Linked DNA regions of Homo sapiens: all the other regions are linked to region 1. The links are contacts of gene promoters, found by promoter capture Hi-C in blood cells and fetal thymus (Javierre and others, 2016). All regions are on one chromosome and are shown on one strand. The core of a region is centred on a gene start or on the middle of the fragment in contact, and the rest is flanking DNA. Distances in the headings are between cores, read along the strand shown.

Region 1 (3,866 bases), core at 399-2,898:
TCTTCACACCCTGGAAAAGCCTAAACTATATTCTCTCAGCACAGAAATGCTGTATCTTCTATTTATTATCACCAGCAGTAAGATTGGGGGCTGGGAGAGAGTTGAGGGCTATTTGGGGAATCTGTATGAACAAAAGATGGGAGACAGGACAAGTTTTCAGCACCTCCATAAAACATTTCCTTAAAAATGTCACAGGTTCCCTTATCTCAAGTGCAAGGCACTAAGCAAGAAAGTTCCTTTCCCCTGGCCATTCCTCCTGCCTCGTCTTCCTCCGATCCTCCCCTTCATTCTCACTGGCCTGTCCCTGCTAACATTCTCTTTACCTCAAACATCCTACATGTTGCCTTGATCCTATTCATGCTGTACACTACTGCCAGTCAATACTTCCTAAAGCATTCTTTAGTTTTTTTTTAGAATGCATTTTTTTCTTTTTGTGGGGGAGGGGTTCCAGTGAAAACTGGAAAACCTGCTAGACAAATTCTAAAAGAGCTGTAACACTTAGAATGCATTTTTAGAATACAGAATACATTCTTTTGACTTTCTTCAAAAACTTTTTTGTTTGTTTGTTTGTTTCGTTGTTTTTTGAGACACAGTTTCGCTCGTTGCCCAGGCTAGAGTGCAGTGGCGTGATCTTGGCTCACTGCTACCTCCACCTTCCGGTTTCAAGCGATTCTCCTACCTTAGCCTCCCAAGTAGCTGGGATTACAGGCAACCACCACCACACCTGGCTAATTTTTGTATTTTTAGTAGAGACGGGGTTTCAACATGTTGGCCAGGCTGGTCTCGAATTCCTGACCTCGTTATCCGCCCACCTTGGCTTCCCAAAGTGCTGGGATTACAGGTGTGAGCCACCGTGCCCAGTCTTTTCAATAACTTTTAATGGTTAGTAAATACAAAGTCCACAGGCAAATATTCAAAAGCCTCCACAATCAGGAGCAAGCTATGTTTCCAGCTCTTGCTCTTGGCCCAAGACCCTGGCCAACTATTTCCATAGGCCATTCCCAGGCTCCCATCTCCACACCTTTGCTTCCAGCCCTCTCAGCCTCCTCTCCATTGTGGCTCCACCTTCATCCAGCCCAGTCACCACTCAAAGCCCAGAGCAAATGCCATCTCTCCCTCTCTGCCTACCTGCTTAGGGAGCGACACTCTCCCAGTCCCCGGGCACCCTGTGCCTCCCACATGGTATCTCAGTCTGACACTGTCCAGATCTCCCCTCCTCGACCTATCCATCTGCTGCTGCTAAAGGCAGAGGCCACCTTATACATCTCTGTATCCCCAAGCTTCACATAGAAGACTCTAGGTCGAATTCTACAGCACTGGTTCCTATTTTGTTTTATAATGTGTTTAGATTTTCCTTCCTTTACTAGACGTAAGCTCCTAGAAGGAAGGAGATCCATTCCTAATTCATCTTTTATTTGTGATGGCACCTAGCACACTTCTTTGTACACAGTAGGCATGTAATAAATAGGTGCTGAATAAATCAATATTTTTTTTTCTCTAATACAGTCCCAAGTACCAGGAAACTGTGGTAAAAAGTTTGCTCTGCCCACAAAGATAAACAGATAACATCAAATGTTTACAGTACAGGAAGAAGAGGACTTCTCGTTACTTCTCAAGGACTTCATCTTCATAGAAAAGAAAAGTTCTATGGGACCGCCTGACTCCCTGGAGAGACCCCAGGTCAGAGAAGGCACATACCTGACATAGAGTGAAATGGGCACAACGGTGTTGAGGATGATGATGTAGGACCAGAAGGAGAGGAAGCCAGAGAAGAAGGCACTGTCCACTGCCTCATCCCACGGCAGGTAGACCTGGAAACGCATCCCCACCTCGTGCTCCCAGATGGCATTGCCAATGGCCAGGATCACCCCCATGCAAACCAGGAATCCAAAAATCTGGGGAGGAATGAGAAGCACAGGCGAGGCTGACATGTAGGAAGCCCTCAAAACCAAGTGCATCTGTGATGTATTCATCCCTTGAGCCCTCAAAAGCTCAGATGCTCTAGTGCAAGCTTGTCCAACCCATGGTCTCTGGGCCACATGTGGCCCAACACAGATTCATAAACTTTCTTAAAACACTATGAGATTTTGGTAACAGCTGAATGTTAAATGAAAAATAATTATAAAAAAAAAAAAAACTATTATGGGCTGGGCGCAGTGGCTCAAGCCTGTAATCCCAGCATTTTGGGAGGTTGAGGCGGATGGATCACCTGAGGTCAGGAGTTTGAGACCAGCCTGGCCAACACGGTGAAACCCCGTCTCTACTAAAAACATTAAAAAAATTAGCCAGTCCTGGTGGCACTTGCCTGTAGTCTCAGCTACTCAGGAGTCCAAGGCATGAGAATTGCTTGAACCCGGGAGGCAGACATTGCAGTGAGCCAAGATCATGCCACTGCATCCCAGCCTGGGCAACAGAGCAAGAACCTGTCTCAAAAAAAAAAAAAAAAAAGGCCAGGTGCAGTGACTCACACCTATAATCCCAGCACTTTGGGAGGCCAAGGCGGGCAGATCATGAGGTCAGGAGTTCGAGACCAGTCTGGCCAACATGGTGAAACCCCATCTCTCATCTCTACTAAAAATACAAAAAAATTAGCCGGGTGTGGTGGCGGGCACCTGTAATCCCAGCTACTAGGGAGGCTGAGGCAGGAGAATCACGTGAACCCGAGAGGCAGAGGTTGCAGTGAGCCGAGATAATGCCATTGCACTACACTCCAGCCTAGTGACAGAGTGAGACTCCGTCTCAAAAAAAAAAAAAAAAAATTTATGAGATTTTTTTTTGCAATTTTTTTTTTCTAAGCTTATCAGCTATTGTTAATGTTAGTGTATTTTATGTGTGGCCCAAGACAATTCTTCTTCCAATGTGGCCCAGGGATGCCAAAATATTGGACACCACTGCTCTAGTGGAAAAAGCTCAGAACTGGTGACAGGTTCTAGTCTGTCACCAATTATCATGTGGCCTTCTGTCTGACCATTATTTCATCTATATGATGAAGAAACTGAAATAGTTGATTAGCTCTCAATCTGGCACCTTGAAACCTTCCAGAGTCCTCAAAGTTGGTAAGAGTGGGGATGAGCTACTTTTAACATACCAGAAAACTTACTGTAAATAATCTATTCACCTGGGCTAGGTACAAGCCAACAAAAATGCCAAGCCACGGTAATGTTCACTATCTCACATAGATGGCCTTTTTTTTTTTTTTTTGAGATGGAGCCTTGCTCTGTCGCCCAGGCTGGAGTGCAGTGGCGCGACCTCGGCTCACTGCTGCAAGCTCCACCTCCCGGGTTCACGCCATTTTCCTGCCTCAACCTCCCAAGTAGCTGGGACTACAGGTGCCCGCCACCACGCCCAGCTATTTTTTTGTATTTTTAGTAGAGATGGGGTTTCACCATGTTGGTCAGGATGGTCTTGATCTCTTGACCTCGTGATCCACCCACCTCGGTCTCCCAAAGTGCTGGGATTACAGGCGTGAGCCACTGCACCTGGCTAAGATTGCCTTTTTTTTTTTTAAACTTGGGAAACAAACTTATCTTCATAAACGTAGATTTCTTTTTTGAAACAGGGTCTTGCTTTGTTGCCCAGGCTGGAGTGCAGTGGCATGATCCTAGCTCAACGCAGCCTCAATCTCCCAGGCCAAGCAATCCCCCCGCCTCAGCCTCCAGAGTAACTGGGACCACAGGTGCATGCCACCAAACCTGGCTAATTTTTCAGTTTTTTGTAAAGACAGGGTCTCACTATGGTGTCCAGGCTGTTTTCGAACTCCTAGGCTCAAATGATCCTCCCACCTTGGTCTCCCAAAGTGCTGGGATTACAGGTGTGAGCCACCACTCCTGGTCTAGATTTCCTGATTAGTCAAAAATCTTATAAAT
Region 2 (3,866 bases), core at 615-3,114, 980 kb after region 1:
AAACTCTGTCTCAAAAAAAAAAAAAAAAAAAAAAAAAGGAGAGACATCAGGGGAGGTGGAAGACCCAGACCCAGGCGGGGTCCAAGAGAGCACTGGTTGGTTCCAGCTCTGCCACCCTCTGGCTGAGTCACCTCGCTAAGTCCCCTCCCAGAACCTGTGGGGTACCCAGCCAATGCGAGCACTCTCCTGTGCAGCCCATCCATGAGGCTCTGCTTCCTTTCCCACAGCATCGCTTTGCTTCTGGTGGGGGATGTCAGGTGGGGGGTGAAGCGGGCATAGGGGGTCACATGGAGGATAGTTTTGCCATGCGGCCTCTCTGCTGGGCCCTTTCTTGCCTACCCCACCCAGCATCCTGCCTGCCTGAGGCCTCCACCTATGGAGAGCTGTCAGGGCCCCTAACTCTGAAGGCTGCAATTCTCCACCTTACCAAGGCGGAGGGAGGGGCACTGGGAGGGCTGGGGACCTACCCCAGGATGTCTGGCTCCGGGACTGGAACTGAGACTGAGACCCATGTGTTCCACCCTTCTTAATGCAGGCCTCTGTTTCCCGACTTTCCCCAAATTTGAAAAGAAAACAAAAAGGCTGTTGGAAGTGCTCAGCCTTTTTCTTAGAACTGCCTAATCATTTTTGGAGCGGGGGAAAAACCTCCCAGTTCCCTGAGTGCTGTGCAGGTGCTCTCCATGTGCTCTTTATGCATTCATTTTCCACCGCAGACCCTTAGGATTAGAAAAGCCCCCAAGTCTTCCACCCCAAGTTCCCGCCTGAGGCTTAGGGTCTCCTCAGCTTTGTGCCAAGTGTCATCCTCAGGGGCTTCCCTCCCCAACATTCGGGGCTCAGCTCAAATGTTACCTCCTCAAAGAGGCCCTTCTCATGTACCCTAACTGGTCACCTCCACCCCACCCAGCCCCATTGCCCACAGCGCACTCTATCTCATTTTCTTCCAGGCACTTATTGGCATTTGGCTTTATCTGTGCTCTTTATTGGCCAACAACTTTACTGTGTGTCTCCCTCCACTGGAATAGTGGGCTCCCCATTTACCACTACATCCCTCTGCCCAGAACAGGGCCCGACAAATAGCAGGTGTTCAATTGAGCAATTTCTTGACCCTGTCGTCCTGTGTAACTGTGAGCACCTGCCCTGTATAACAGGACACTCGCTGCGTCTTGGGGCTGGGCTCCAGGAGCTCAAATCTTCCCCTTGATTGCTGTAGCCCATACTCCCATCCTCCCTTGTCAACCCAAACTGCGGTGAGGCTGGGTCAGACCTGCCAGAGTCCAGCCCTACCTTGAGAAAATTTTGCAGATCTTTTCGCACCAGCTCTTTGAATTCCCCCTGGTTCAGGGTGTCTGGGTGCCCCAGCTTCACAGAGTATTGGTGGAAGGTGTTGATGATGGTCTCTATGTTGCGTTCCAGCTGCGACATTTTGCAAGTCATCGTCTTGCACTCTGTCTGTGTAATGGAAAACCAAGAGTTGGGACACTTAGAAGAAAATGCTGTCAAGCTTCTTTGACACTTCCTACTAAGCACTCACAGAAATAGTGGGGGAAGTGCAAAATAAAAAGAAAGCACAGGCTGCAACTTAACTGGGAGATGGCCTGTCACACACATGTACAAAATGATTTTTTAGAATATCTACAGAGTGCCAAAAAGCAAAGCATTTGAGGGCAGGAGGCCCCAGGGGAACATGACCTAAGAAAATGTGAAAGAAGCTTTAAAGTAGGCAGGGCCAACCAAGGAGGGCTTCTAGGAGGAGGATTTGGAAGGAAGTTGGGTCAGGGAAGGAAAGAAGGAATCGGCAGGCAGGCTTCTGCCTGGGGAAGCTGGCAGCTCACTTACCAAAGCCGAGGAGCCACACAGAGTGTTTGCCAGAGCTGTGCAGGCTCGGCATTTATAGGCAGCTCCTGACTGGGGCACTTGGCCCTTTGGCCCTGTCTCCGGAAGATTGCTTCACAGGTGAGCAGTGTGGTAATGCTGCCAGGAAGGGGGCTGGGGCGGGGCAGGAAATGTTCACAGAGCGCCTTCTGCTTTTTTGTGAAATTCCCAGCCCTGGCCTGAAACTGGTTTGGGAGGAAGCTGGTTGTTTAGTTCATTTCCCTTCTATCCTAAGGCCCTACTCTCCCCGAGCGAGCCTGCTGCTCCTCTGGCACCACTCAGCCCCCCATCCCCTTTGAGGTTGAAGCAGGCTGAGGACCTATGGGGGCCTGACCCTCTCGGCTGCCCCCCATGGGCAGTCTGCCCCTTCCTTTTAGTCCAACAAGGATGGTCTGAGCTCTCACCCATGCTTGCCTGGCTCTGTGATACTTAGGATGGCGAGGGGTTGGTGTTCTTAGATTCATAGGGTGAGATTTGGGGTTAGAAGGGTTCTCAGAGGTGGGCAACCCTCTTGCATTGTAGATGAAGAAACTGACACCCGGAGATGGACCTGAGCAAGGTCACATAGCTGGTTGCTGACTTGGCAGGAAGGGGACCCAGCTATTCTGGTTCCTGGTTAAGGGCAATTCTGATGATACCTTCCTCTTGCAGTCTGAGTGAGAGAGCCTCAGGGCGAATATGTTTCTAGCATCTCTCAGCATCATTTTTCTAAATCCTGCTCCCAGCAAGGGTTCCAGGAACTTATAACTTGGGAGACAACTGTTTTTACTTAGCCTCCTGGTGGGCAAGATGTGTCCTTCTCCTGCTACGAACCTCCAGTTGCTCCCCATTGCCTATGGAGAAAGCTTGGCTTAGCCCTGCGCACAAAGCCCTCTTGGAATGGCCCTGCCTGTCCGGCCAGCTTCCCTTTCACTACCTCCCTGCCCACTGTGGGAACACAGGGCCCACCTCCCACCTTGCCACCCCAGGAGTGCCCTTCCCCTACTCCACAGTGATATCCTGCCCGCCCCCACGGCTCAGTTCTAATGCACTCTCTTCCAAGGAGACTGCTCTGTGCTTCCCATTTGGAAACAGTTTCTGTCTTCCTGACTATGATTCTCATACCACTTCTGGCTCTCAACACTTGCTTTCCTGGAGTAAAATTATATACATATTTTGCCTCTGTCCAACAATTGGCTGTAGATCCTCAAAGGTAGGTTCTCATTCATGTTCTCCTTCTCCTATGCACACAGCCCGGGGCTTGGCAAGAGAGACACCCTCGGATTTGCTGATTGATCCTTGCTGAAGTCCTTGCTGGCATCCTTTCCCGTCACCCCTGGAAGCCAGTATGGATGATCCACCCTGGGACTCCCTCTTGCTTGCTGCCCCCTCTCTCTATCAGGAAAGATGGTTCTCTTCTTCTACCTGCACTGGTTATTTTGTTCTGTCTCCATGAAGCCTTCCTTTATTGCCCCAGCCCCTCCTGACTGCTTTGTCCTCTGAAAGCCTGAGGCAATCTCTGTGTGTGCTAAGCATTGGCCCTAAGCATGGCCTGCCTCACACTGCTGAGATGCACCTGGAGTAGTGGTTAAGACTTCAGACTGTCTGTGTGACCTTAGGCAGTTTACTTAACTTCTCTGTGCCTTACTTTTCTTATCAATAAAATAGGATAATATCAGGACTTACCTTGAGGATTGCGACAATACATGGAAAGTTGGGAAGAGCTCAGTAAATAAAAGGTATTATTACTAATAATCTTTTCATTCATTTATGCAACAAATATTTGTTGAGCACCTACTGAGTGCCAGATATGAATGCTAGATGCTGGGAGAACTTGATGAGTGAGTCGCAATACAAAGGGGAGACATAATCTTATATCCTGTCTTCCAAATTACGTTTTAAACTCTTGGTAGCTAAGGACAGGGCTTGGCACAGTGCTAAGCACACAGCAAGCATCTAATAAATAAATGAGTGCTTGAATACATGAGTCGCCTACGAATGAATGAACGGTGCAG
Region 3 (3,866 bases), core at 894-3,393, 670 kb before region 1:
CCTGAGCCTAGTGGGCACTGCCTTCTTTCTTCCCCAGAGCCCCATTCTGGTGGTATTAACCCCTTTTTGACCCCTGTGCCAGGGCTGGGGGTGTGTGGTACCCAAGGGAGGGGACAGTGTCTGGGGGTGCCAGCAGGTTGTGTTGTGCCCACAGCAACCATGTAACAGAGGCACGCTGGGGGAGCTGGGGTCCCTGGGGCCAGGGACAGAGGCACTGACAGAGATTTCTCCTTGTTTCATCAGCTGCTCCAGGGGGAGCCCCCTACCCTTCTCCCCAGTTACCACTAAGGAGGAACACTAACTATCATCCAGACATAGTCACACATATGTCCCTCTCTAGCGCAGCACAACACTCCTTATGCCCACTCTCTCCTCCCCAACCTGATGTCCACTCCATGCCAGCTCTCCCAGCAGTGCCAGGCGGGTACAGGGGTGACCAAACCAGTTGGTGTGTGTGGGGCAGCAGGAGGCAACCCCATAATCCTCCAGGCCTCATCCCCACACTCACACATACTCCCTTAGGGACCAGACAGTTCCCATCCTGCTTTAACCCCTCACAGCCCAATCTGGTTCCCCCGTCCCTGATAAGCGGTCTCCCTCCTCCAGGAATAAGTTGGGGGAAGGGGGAATAGCTGCGCTGACTCATTCCCATTCTCGGCTGCAGCTAGGGGTCTCCAAGGCATTCGGGCGGGGGTCAATTCAAGAACACCCTCCACCTGGCCCGGAAGCCTGGACAGCCTGCCGGTCTCCCCCTCTCCCCAGCACCCACTTCCGGTGTCCCAAACTAGGTCAGCAGCGCTCGTTTCCTGTGGGTCAGCTAGCACCGGCGCCTCTGCCCCTCCCCTGCTCCGGACCCAGGCTCCCCGCCCCCCTGCCCCCCAGGGCGCCCCGAGGTCTCACCATGTCTCAGCCGCCCTTTGATACGTGGGGGTTGTGCGGGGCGGGGGGCAGGGGACCCGCCCTCTCTCTAAACACCAGCAGGGCCGGGGCGCCTGGGCAGGCACGTGTCCGGGCACAACCCGCTGCCCACGCCGCCCCCCCACTCCCGCCCCCACCTCGCTCTGGCCGGGACACGTCGCTCTCTTACTTGGGATGGGGTGGGAGGAGGGAGAGAAAGCTGGAAATTGAAAGCAGCGCCCCCCACCCCTTTGAATGGCAGCCTTCTGCCAGGCGCACTCTGTAGGTTCTACAACAACACAGTAGCGACCCCCACTCTGGGCTGGGGCAGGTGCGCCGGCGCCGGTGGGGGGACGGGTAGTAGGTAGGAGAATTCTTCCTAGTCACCCGCCCTCGCTCTTGGGTTCTGTGGTCATGAGCTGGCGTGGAAAAGGTAGCGGCGGGACTGGAGCCTGAAGGAAGGGAGTGGGATTGAGGGGCAGGGAAGAGAGCGGTCGTTCTATGTCGGTTCAGAGGTTGTTGCTGAGCCCCACTACCGCTGGAGAGAGCGCGGCTCTGGAAGCGCAAGAAACCGAATAGTCCAGCCGGTAACTTTCCCCCAAGCCGCGGCTCCTCCTGCGCCCCCCCAACCCCCATGCAACTGGCCTGGGGCCAATCCACCGCGCCAGGGGGCGCGGGGTGGGGGGGGGGTGCGCGTTGTCCTAGTTAGAGTCCGTCAGCGTTTCCATTCCCTCAACTCAGTCCGGTCTGGGGTCTCCCCCTAAAGTCACGAAGGAGACTGGGGGAACGCTCAGCGTCGCCTCACCCCCTCTCCATCCCGAAGCCGTCTGTCTGTCTGATCCCAGGAGAAGTGCAGATAAACTTTCTGGGGACCCTCCGCCTAGGGTTGGGGGGCATCCGCAGTTCCTTCTCTGTCTTTCATCTCAGTTAAAACCAATTCCAGAGACCCGGGGTGTTGGGAAAGCACAGGGAAGGGGAGTGGTGGGAATGTGATCTGCATGCGTGTGTATCTGGGGGTCCCACTTACAGGACGGACGAAGGACACTGCAGTAGTCTCGAGCCTAGTGAACCCCGAGCCAGGAGACAAAAGTGGGGTACACTCACCTCTCAGCCGTCGGGTCCGCTGGCTGGAGCTGCTGAGGCTCACAGTGTGGGAAGAAGCGCGTCCCCCACCAGGCCCGGGGGCTTGGGGCCCTGCTCCGGTCCTGGTCAGAAGGCCGCGGTCAGTTGCTCGCCGCTCGCTGCTGGGGGGCTCCTCCTCCGCCGCCCTCTGCCTCCTCCTGCCGCCCGCCCCCCCTCGGCCGCCAAGAGCCGTACATTCACCTGGCTCCCACCCGCCCCCCCCTCAGGGCCCGCCTCACCTGTCCTGCTGTCTCACCTGTCCTCCAGCTTGCTTTCCCCCCATCCCTCCCCTCCCTCCCCCCGCCCCTGCCACCCCCCAAACTCCCCCCCCCCAACACTTAGAAACACCCTCTGTCACTTCCTGGTTTTTCACCCGCCCCCCCAGGCCCCCTCCCTCCGCCCAATAAGGACATAAACTTCAACCCCTTCGTCCAGCCAGTCCCTGCAGAGCGCAGATGGGTCCCTCCCTCCTTTTTTGCCCCCTTCTCCAAACTCTTACTTAGCTCTCCTAGCCTTTCCCACCCTCCTCCTTTCCCTCCTTCTTTCCTTCTCTCTGTCTCCCTTCACCTGCCGCGGTCCCTCTCTCCCCCCCCTTTCTCCTGCCCCTATCTCTCCCAGTCCACCTTAACTCAAACTCCGCCCCCGGCCCCCATCCAGCCCTTTGCTGCTGCTCTGCCCGCCCCCTGCACGCCACCGCCCTGTCCGCTCATTGGCCTGAATACCCGCTCATCTCCAGTAGGTCTCGCCTTGCGTTCGTCCAGGGAGGGGGCGGAGCCGAGGGGCTGGCCTGGAACCTGGAGAGGAGGGGGGAGGGGGCAGTGTCCGCAGCGGCCAGGGAATCGAGCACCCCCTACAGGGGCTCCCTCTCCTTCAAGAGGGGCTTCTGTAGGGTCAGGACCTCAGGAGGGAAGGGTATGAGAGGTTAGGGATAGGCTGGGTGGGGGTGAATTGGGGACTTAGGGTCTTGAGGGAGGGGGTCCCGTGAGGGGCTGTAATCAGGTCAGGGACCTAGAAGGGAGGGGGAGGGGGAGCCACCAGGCCTTCGGCTCCGGCCCCTACGCCCCACCCCCTCTCGGAGGGAGCCGGGGAGTTGAGCCTGCGGGCGCCCTGCGTCCCTCCCCACGCGTGACGGTGCCCCGCGGGGAGGGAAGGGCGCCCCAGGCAAGCAGCCTCTGTGCTGTCGCCAGTGCCCGCTGCGGCCTTGGCATTGTCGGAGGGGAGGGGCCCAGTCTGCGAAGGGGGAGGGGGCGCGCCGACGCTTTTGCTCCCCACCTCCATCCCGCGGGTTCCCTAAGTGGAGAAACTGAGTCTCCACCGAGGAGGGATAGCTTGACATGAATTCGCTGAGAGACCCAGGTGGCGAGGGGTGCCTGGATGTTTTGGGATGTGTGGTATGTGTAGGTTTTGGGGAGGACCGGGATAAATACTTAGGAGTCCCCCAACTGAGAAAGGTAGCGGGTGAAGGATGTTTCTGACTGAGCCTGCGGAGCTGCGTACCCCAAAGGGCCCCTCCCACTAGTGTCAAATGGAATCAAATCCGGCTACCTAGGGCCAGGTTTGGCTCCCCTGCGACAAGCCAGGCCGAACCGGGTCGGACTCGCTTTCCCCTCCCAACCCCCCTCCGCAGGGGGCCTCCCTCCCTTTCCAGCAGGTGGCTTCTCGGGACACCAGCTCAACCTGTTGGACCACAATGGGCGGCGCCAGGGGGGCCCTGGCCCTCACCCGGGCTGACCCGGGATCCCCGCGCACGAGGGGCGGAGTCCAGGTCCCTCCCTCCCTCTTTCTCCCTCTCTCCCTCTCCGCGCCGGGCCGTGACTCAGCCTCGGGGCCGCTGCCCTGCGCCCCAG

The links. The method cuts DNA at HindIII sites, captures the fragments that hold promoters and counts their contacts. A CHiCAGO score of 5 or more calls a contact.
Region 2: the fragment with the promoter of S100A9 here is called in contact with a fragment that was not itself captured in region 1 in 1 of 17 cell types (total B cells); the score reaches 5.4 in total B cells.
Region 3: the fragment with the promoter of ZBTB7B here is called in contact with a fragment that was not itself captured in region 1 in 1 of 17 cell types (non-activated CD4 T cells); the score reaches 5.0 in non-activated CD4 T cells.

Annotation. Positions count from the first base shown.
Region 1 is chr1:154,335,377-154,339,242 of GRCh38, reverse strand. ATP8B2 (ATPase phospholipid transporting 8B2) reads right to left here. Exons shown (of 28, transcript NM_001370597.1): 12 at 1,699-1,895. It also overlaps the pseudogene RNU7-57P. Among named protein-coding and RNA genes, the nearest start is that of ATP8B2, 12 kb to the right of the region's middle. The HindIII fragment of the contact is 731 bases long and covers 1,283-2,013 here.
Region 2 is chr1:153,355,852-153,359,717 of GRCh38, reverse strand. It overlaps S100A9 (S100 calcium binding protein A9), which reads right to left and starts at 1,864. Exons shown (of 3, transcript NM_002965.4): 1 at 1,837-1,864; 2 at 1,285-1,449. The coding sequence starts at 1,434. The HindIII fragment of the contact is 1,008 bases long and covers 1,712-2,719 here.
Region 3 is chr1:155,001,079-155,004,944 of GRCh38, reverse strand. ZBTB7B (zinc finger and BTB domain containing 7B) reads right to left here and starts at 2,143. Exons shown (of 3, transcript NM_001256455.2): 1 at 2,002-2,143. RefSeq lists an enhancer at 1-171 and silencers at 875-994, 2,705-2,894, 3,005-3,244, 3,645-3,864. The HindIII fragment of the contact is 14,435 bases long and covers 1-3,866 here.